2 separate regions of the Homo sapiens genome follow, and region 1 is linked to region 2. Evidence: promoter capture Hi-C in 16 types of primary human blood cells and fetal thymus (Javierre and others, 2016). All regions are on one chromosome and are shown on one strand. The core of a region is centred on a gene start or on the middle of the fragment in contact, and the rest is flanking DNA. Distances in the headings are between cores, read along the strand shown. Region 1 overlaps DUSP4 (dual specificity phosphatase 4). Region 2 holds the start of RBPMS (RNA binding protein, mRNA processing factor).

Evidence for each region. Contacts are between HindIII fragments. The CHiCAGO score rates a contact against its expected background, and 5 or more counts as called.
Region 1: a fragment that was not itself captured here is called in contact with the fragment with the promoter of RBPMS in region 2 in 5 of 17 cell types (naive B cells, M2 macrophages, M0 macrophages and 2 more); the score reaches 9.5 in naive B cells.

Annotation. Positions count from the first base shown.
Region 1 is chr8:29,338,124-29,342,397 of GRCh38, forward strand. DUSP4 (dual specificity phosphatase 4) reads right to left here. Exons shown (of 4, transcript NM_001394.7): 2 at 1,975-2,120; 3 at 159-378. Among named protein-coding and RNA genes, the nearest start is that of DUSP4, 10 kb to the right of the region's middle. RefSeq lists an enhancer at 2,089-2,383. The HindIII fragment of the contact is 1,897 bases long and covers 446-2,342 here.
Region 2 is chr8:30,382,043-30,386,181 of GRCh38, forward strand. It overlaps RBPMS (RNA binding protein, mRNA processing factor), which reads left to right and starts at 2,499. Exons shown (of 9, transcript NM_001008710.3): 1 at 2,499-3,116. The coding sequence starts at 3,051. RBPMS-AS1 (RBPMS antisense RNA 1) reads right to left here and starts at 3,359. Exons shown (of 3, transcript NR_046205.1): 1 at 3,102-3,359; 2 at 1,502-1,655; 3 at 77-573. RefSeq lists enhancers at 2,286-2,956, 2,957-3,628. The HindIII fragment of the contact is 8,815 bases long and covers 1,350-4,139 here.

The DNA.
Region 1 (4,274 bases), core at 144-2,643, 1.0 Mb before region 2:
CAACATCCAATGTATAAGCCTTCCCAATGAGGAAGAGGGGGAATGGGGACCCTTGGATTCAGTGCCTCCAATGTCCACCTTCAACCCAGGCTTACAGGGGTTCCTTATCCTTCCCACCCGCCCTCAAACCCAGGAACCCCAGAGCAGGGCCAGCCTACCGATGTACTCTATGGCTTCCATGAACCAGGAGCTGATGTCGGCCTTGTGGTTATCTTCCACTGGGATGCACTTGTACTGATAGTGTCCTTCAAAGTGGTTTGGGCAGTCCGAGGAGACATTCAACAGAGCCGTGATGCCCAGGGCGTCCAGCATGTCTCTCCGGGCAGCATGGTAGGCACTGCCGAGGTAGAGGAAGGGAAGGATCTCCACAGGACCCCCCTGCACAGAAAGGGAAACAAAGGCCCCTGAATGACATGAGGGTAAAGTGCTTGGCACAGGGAGTGGAAGCTTGTCTGAGAAGAGCTTTCCTTTCCAAACCCAGGGAGAATGCCTGCTGGGCCTGGCCCTCCCAGCCTCCCCCTGTAGCCTCCTGGAACTCTTGGAGGGGTGATAGGCCCAGTGGGACTTCTCCAGCCTTTGCCCTCTACTTGTGAGCAGAGAGGCCAGGGCAGGTAAAGTCTTGTGGGACTCTCCTGCACCTCCCCCATGGCAAAATAAGCGGCAGGACAATGCCGGCCTTATGGCACCATCTGTGACACTGAGTTTATATCTGCTAATCATCAAGCCATTTGCTGTGTGGTTTAGATACTTATTTGTTTTGATATGTATTCACTGGGCATATCAAAAACAGGTGTGCAGTGGCTCACACCTGTAATCTCAGCACTTTAGGAGGCTGAGGTGGCAGGATCATGTGAGCCAGGAGTTCCAAGACCAGCATGGGCAACACAGTGAGACCTCATCTCTCAAACAATGAAGCTGGCATGATGGTGCACACCTGTAGTCTCAGTTGCTTGGGAGGCTGAAATGGGAGGATCATTTGAGCCCAGGACTTTGAAGCTGCAGTGAGCTATGATTGCGCCACAGGACTCAAGCCTGGGTAACAGAGTGAGACTCTGTCTCTAAAAATAAACAAATAAATAAGCTGATGCCCTCATGGCCACACAGACAAGAGAGAGGATCTTGGCAAAATGAGGCAACAGTGGCTTAAATTTAGCACATGAGATGTGGGCAGCAGAGTCCATCTAACTGAAAGGGCTGGAGGGTGGGCTTATAAGAAACACAGTGGCTCAAGCAGGTTTTCTTGGAGGGAGGGTGGGTGACCATCTATGTTCATTCGGCTGATACGTGGGAGCAGCCTGCCTGTCGGGGACTGAGATGTATTTCATGGCCTGCTACTTCAGAGGAGAATGACCTCAGCTTCCCAGAGAGCAGGTCCCCCAGGGCTTCTGGAGGCCTCCTCACTTGTCCGGACACGACGTTAGAGGCCAAGCCAGGGAGTCATGTCTTTAGACTTTTTTCTTAGGAGGATATTTAGAGAGGGAAGGGGAAGATTTCCAAGAAGTAAATAGGTCCTACCTAACATCCCACCCCAATACTCCGGGTTCACCGCATTCTCCCCAAATTGAGGCATAACATTCAAAGACTTAAAAAAATCTCAGGATTGGATGCAGTGGCTCACGCCTGTGATCCCAACACTTTGGGAGGCCAAAGCAGGAGGATCACTTGAGGCCAGGAGTTCAAGACCAGCCTGGGCAACATAGCAAGACCCCCCCCCCCCATCTCTACCAAAAACCTTTTAAAATTAGCCAGGCATGGTAGTGCCACCTGTAGTCCCAGCTACCAGGGAGGATCCCTTGAGCCCAGGAGTTCGAGGCTGCAGTAAGCTATGATCACACCACTGCACTCCTGGGTGACAGAGCAAGACTGTCTCAAAAGCAAAGACAAAAAACACCGTCAGAACTCTGAAAAGAAGGCATCCACTGGCCCCTACGCTGTTCCTGCCCCCCACTTCCAAGCCCTGCCCCCCGAGTCTACCTGGTCGTGTAGTGGGGTCCCACAGGAGCTGCAGCCCAGGTCCAAGGGCTCTGTGGCACTGGGGGGAACCGGGGGTGGGATGGCTGCCAGGGCCTTGGTTTTAGAACAGAATTCTGGGTACTCGGAGGAAAACCTCTCATAGCCGCCTGTAAAGGAGAAAGAAGCTCAGGTTAATGGGGTCACTAAGCCAGCAGGAAGTCAGAAAGAACTCGACTCCTACAGACTCAGGCGGACTGCTAGGAAGGCAGGGGCTGGCGTGCTCCATATTGGCCACTAGGTGGCGCTGTGGACCTAGAGAATGGCCATGGAGTGGTTTCCAGAGATGCAGAGGACACACTCGTCAGGACTGCAGCAAAGCTGGAAGGATAAGCTTTATGGACAAGACTTGGGTTAGAGAGGTAGACATACAAAGGAAGACGTGCAGGGGGATGTGCAGAAGTGACTGTGGAGTAGCTCCTCAGGACAATGACAAAATAGAGAAGCAAAGGTCACGCTGGGCTTCCAAGGACACTAAGTACCTGTAGAGACACCTGCCACCCCTGATTCCAGCCCTTCCTCAGGGGAGGTTCTCCAATGTGAGAAAGAAGGGAAAAAATGACCCTGGTACAAACTCTTCTGGATCTCAGCAATGGAACAGATGTCCATTGCACGTCCTCATGAATAGCTGTTCCGTCACCAAGAGACCAGAACAAGAGGAAAACGGGCTTAAATCTAAATAAACCCCTCATGCTATGTACAGGTTTGGGGCAAGGGAGTATTTCCTGACCTGAGAGTGGGTAAGCCCTGGAATGGTTATCTGTGGGATCATCTTCCAGAGAAGGGAGATCTTTTAAATAAAAAAAGAAGATGATGATAAATGGCCAGCTGAGCTGGGGTAGGGTGAGTGCTCCTATCTAGGAGGGGTGGAGGCAGGTGGGATACAGGGAGAGGCCACAGGGAGGCCATCCAAAAAGACAACCTTTCAAGCCCTATCTCTGGCTTTCTTGTGATCTCTGGGACTTCCTTTTGCGGCCAACTTCCAATCCACAGTGCTATCAATGTATGGCCCTGCTTTTATTTTTATTTTACAGTGTCTGTAGGGCCAGAAATGGATTCAATTGATTCAGTAGGGCCTGTGCGTTGGAGAACCACCATTCCAACAAACCCATTCAACTGACTCCAATGACAATTTGGCCAACAGTCCTGGATGTCGCTACCTTTGCGGTCTTCATGACAGTGACATAGGACCTCTGTGCCCTAGGGCCATTGATAGAAATTTTCCAATGTGCAGACATGTGACGGTGAGTCAGTCACTTGCGCCAAATCCCAACCCTAAAGACTGCTTCCTACTGAGAGGAAGGAAACGGTTCTCTACCACATCATGAGGCTTATAGAAACAGGGTGTACATTTTTTCCTCTCTGACCGGAGGCTTCTCTATTCCCCTCCTCTCCCTCCCTCAGGATATAAATGGATCTCTCTCTGGTCACAGGCCCTTGTTCCTGCTGAGTCACAGTGACCAGCCTCCCTGGATGGAAAACCTGCTGGTGGGGCTGGTACCGTCAGCCTCGGTCATGCTGGTGGCCTCGGCAGCCACTTCATCACAGAAGCACCCCCTCCCTCCCATCATAAACCCCTTTCCTTATTCGGCTGCCACCACTGCTGCCCAAAATGCAGTAATTAGAGGATGAGGGAAGAGGAAGGAAATATCTGTCTGCAGCTGAAGTCCTTCAGGGGCTTCTGTGATGGGAAACTTCAGTCCATGCTCCCTTTCGGAGAAAGTGGAAGGGAAACTCATTCATTAACAGTGGTTGATCACTTGTATCCCAAGCCATCACTTGTTACTCTATATACTTCTCTAGGATTTGAAAAAATTCTAAGTACATGATCCTTTTGTCTATTACATAATTTGAGCTATTAAAACACATTTTAAAACAACATGTTAGACACAGGTGGTGTCCTGCAAAAACTCACCACCAAGACAGACAAGCTATCGCCTGCACTCAAAAGTGAATGGTTGGGTGGCCCAGGAGTGCCAGGGCAGGCCCCACGGTCACAGAGCAGAGTGGCCCTCAGGGCTGGAGAAGCAGGAAGAGCCCAGAGCAGCTGAGAGGATGTTGTCTCCATTGCTGAGGGTATGGAACAGGGCACTGGAGTGAAGTTCCGAAAGGGCACAGGCTCTGCCATGAGGTTGCACCCCACCCTGAGCATGTATCACCTGTGCAGCCCGGGCCTCCTGAACCTCTCGGAGCCTCCTCCTCGTCTGTAAGTGATGAAAGTCCCCTGCACAAAGGCCTATGAGGACTGGTTCTGACAGCCAGGC
Region 2 (4,139 bases), core at 1,249-3,748:
CCGTGCCCCGCCTGGAACTTATTTTTGTTTCTTATCCCAGAGATTTTTGACTTTTAACAATGGACAAAGTCCTGGCTTGGCTTAAAGACAAAGAAATCAGATTCTTTATTTGGAATTAAGCCATGCTTCCCTGGGTGGGGATAGGAGAGGTTCTCCGGGCATCCTGATATCACACAACATAGTTCACCTGCTCCTAAGTGAGGTCTGAGTGGAACTATTGACTACATTGTCATTTTTGTTGGGCCCATGCCGGGATCCAAGAAGACCATGCCCTTCTGTGGAGTATGCTCCATGACAGGCAAGAATGGCCAAAGACACAGTGCTAGCATCATGGGCCACCACGGGGTCCTAAGACCACCACTCAGCTATTATTGCTCGGGAAGACATTGCCCCCTCGTGGTTCCTCATGTAATTGAGGGAAGCTGGCAGTGCAAAGAGCTGCCAGTTAAGGCAATCAATACATCCAAACACGTGCAAAGTTTCCACATTCACTGTAGCCTTATCTCTTCTGAATGTCTTGGGTTGCAGTTTCAAGAGTTGGTTTATTTTCATCCAGGATACATGTTTGTTCCCCTTAGAGAGAAATCACATTATGACAGCAATTAAAAAAACATGTTTTCCTTATGGAAATCTTCCTGTTTCAAAATCTCCAAACCCCCAAGATAAATCCAATATGTAAATCCAAGTATCACTACTGTTTTTCTCCTCATAATGCCCTTAAAGCAAATATTTTCCTTGCTTTCTATAATCGGAAAGAGGATTCTGAGAGTATCTTGGCTCCATACCACTTTATTTTTTTGTCTTTTCTTTTTTTCCCCTCTGTGGAGAACAGAGTCTCACTATGTTGCCCAGGCAGGTCTTGAACTCCTGGGCTCAAGCAATCCTCTTTCCTCTATCTCCTTAAGTGCTGAGATTCCAAGTGTGAGCCACCATACCACTTTAAACTCCCTAAAGGGAGGGTCCTTATCTGCAACTCCCACAGCCACCCCCGCCCTATCCCCAGCAGCACTTAAACCAAGTATAAAGAATGTCTGGTGGGGGTGGGGAGAAACAGTTAAGCAAATACTGTAGTTGGAAACTGTTACCGGTGCAAGACAGGAGCAGCAGGCTGGGATGGAGAATTCCTGGGAGGAAGAAGTGGGGCAGAACCCACTGATATATGGAGTTCCACATTTATACCTTTGTAGCAGTCAAATCTAAGAGTTTAACACGGTGGCTCCACGTTGTAATCCCATCAGTTTGGGAGGCCAAAAGCAGGAGGATCACTTGAGGCCAGGAGCTCGAGCTCAGCCTGAGCAACAAAGTGAGACCCTCATTTTTCTAAAAAAAAAAAAAACCAAAAAACCATAAGCTTAAATGATCGAGTATTGGAAACGCTTTCTAAGGCCCTGGAAAAATAGAAGTTTTCTTAATAATAATGTTAGCTTCCATGTATTGTAAACCTAAACGAAGCAAGAATAAATGCTGGGTGCTGTATATAGCTCTATCAACCTATAATCACCTCGAAAACTCGAGGAGACACATTCAGCTGCTCCCATTTCACGGATGAGGAAACAAGTACGCAATCCTGAAGCTGGTGCAAAGCCCAGGCCCCCTTTCTTTTTCAAGCGTGCTTCCAGCCTCTGAAGTTCCTCCGTACGGACCCCCAGCTCTGCCTGCAATAAGGAATATTCACTTTGCCAACAAATATTTATTGAGTGCCTGCTATATACCCCTTAGCCCGTTTAAATAGCCGTGGGATTAAAAAGATAAATAGGGCAGGATTTTTTTTTTTCTTCCAGGAAGGAGCTTTCTGAAGGGTGAGGGAGAGGCCAGGTAAACAATCCCAGAACAGTCTGGTGAGAGTTGGGAGAGGAGTCGGGGGGCCGCGGGACGCTCAGGAAGCGAAGCGGGGAAGGCTCCGGGCGCGTCGCAGGACCCGCGCTGGAGATGGGTTTGAAGCCCTGTCCTGAAAAAGCCGGCCCGGAGTGGGCTGTCCCCGGTGTCCCTCGAGTTCTCATGCTGTCATTCAAGCAGCAGAGGAAGAACCGGGTCTGGCTCGGGAAGGGTGGGCTTAGGGCCAGGGGTGCAAATCCCTCGGTAAAAGCCGGCAAACTAAAAGTCGCACACATCCCAGGTCCCGGTCCAGGCCCCGGCGGGGCAGGGTCCCCGAAGTCCCGGGGCGCGCAGACGCCGGGGCCCCCGGGGGCCAAGGGAACGGCGGGACCCGACCTCCCTGCCCTCGGCCTCCCGGGCCCTCGCCCTCCGACCAGCCGCTGAGTCGGGGGCTGGGGTCGCCGCTTCCGCCCGCGGCCCGCTGCCCCTCCCCGGCGCGCGCCATCCGGCCGCCGGCCCCTCCTCCCGCGGGGGGCTCCGTCCCGCGCCCCGTCCCTCCGGGCTGCAGCCGGCAGCCCACGTCCAGGGAGGGCGGAGGGAGGAGGAGAGGCGCGGAGAGGAGGGAGGGGAGAGGGGAGGGAGGAAGGCGAGAGAAAGGGAGCTGCTTCCATCCCGGACTTCCCAGAGCCTGCCTGGAGCGCGTACTCAGCGGCTCTCGGGTCCCAGCGTCCCAGCCGCGGCCCGCGCTCCTCCGCCCCGCTCCTCCTCCTCCTCTTCCTCCTCCTCCTCCTCTCTAGGCACCCCCGTCCCCTCCTTCCAGCGGCTGCAGCCCCCAGCCCCAACTCTCCGCGCTTACTCCTGGGACGCGCGTCCTCGCCCCATCCTTTGCTTCCTTCCTTCCTTCCTTCTTCCTTCCTCCCCTGGCTCCCGCCCTCCCTCTCCAGGTCGCCCTCCCGGGGCCCGATTGTCTCGGTGCCCCGCTCCCGGCCCGCGCCCTGCCCCGTCTCTCCCTTGCACTTCCTGAGTCGCCCGCCGCCGCCGTCGCAGACTCGCCGCGGGAGCCCCAGCCCAACCCGAGCCCGACAGCCACTGCCCCGGCTCCAGCTCCAGCCCCACAGCCCGCGGCGCCCGCCCGAGGGAGCCCCGGCGCCCGGGGAAGGCTCCAGTGGGCTAGCGCGCCCTCGCCCAGCCCCGCGCCCCAGCCCTGCCCGGCCCGGCGAGGAAGGACCGGGAAGATGAACAACGGCGGCAAAGCCGAGAAGGAGAACACCCCGAGCGAGGCCAACCTTCAGGAGGAGGAGGTACTGGGCGGCTCGGTGTGGTGGCGGGGGCGACGCGGGACCCAGTGCGGGCGGCCGGCGGGGCGCGGGCCCGGGGCGCGGCGGTGGAAGAAGGTTCAGGCATGGCCCGTGCCCCGGACGCAGCCCCACAGTGTGGCCCGGGGAGGGTGGATCTCGGGAGCGTGTGTTTTTGTGTCCACGCGCGTCTGCGGGCCCCAAATTGCGTAACTCCAAGGACTTTTCGGAGACTTTTGTAAGTATAATGCTCAGCTTTGTTTGCCCGGGATTTATAAGTGGAACCGAGAGCTGACTCCTGGGTGACCTCAGATAATCGGGACTCGGAGGGTCAGGACTTAGGGCCGGGGCTGGAAATTGTGTATGGATTCAGGGTCGGGGGGGGAGCAGTTTAAGGAAGAAACTCGGGGGAAAGTTCTCGTTAAAAGATACCTCTATTCCCTGCCCCCTCCCTTTCCGTGTTAAAAGTTCTTGGTGAAATATCTTTCTAGCCGAGGTTTTTTGGATTAATAGATAACTCATCAGCCACATTCTTCTCTGCTGAGTCAAAGACCCCGAGCCTGGGCGGTGAACGCTTGTGATTTTAGGGGCCGTGCAGCTGAGGGGAGCAGAGTAAGAGGGTTAAAAACGCAGCAATTCACCAAATGCTCATCGAGGGTATTTTCATAGGACTTTGACTTCTGAGCATGCATTTTAGGTGGTGCGTCCGTAATCATGATGAAAGTTTTGTGACTGCGGAGCGTTCCTTCGGTGGAAACAAAATTGAGTAGATGTGGTCAGAAGGGGAGTCGGACTCAGGAACAAACGTTTCAGAATTCAGTAGGATATTTGTGGTATCCTACCAAATGACTCTTTTTGCAGGTACGTTATCTGGAGTCCAAGAAATTATTTCTGGCGTACTTCTTAACATCCCACACAGTTGAGTTCTTAAACATTCTAGAGGAACTTGAGAGTGTGTGTAGATGCAGGAAAGTGCACGTCTAAATATGACCCGAAAAGATTCACACAGGTATTGGATCCTGATATAGG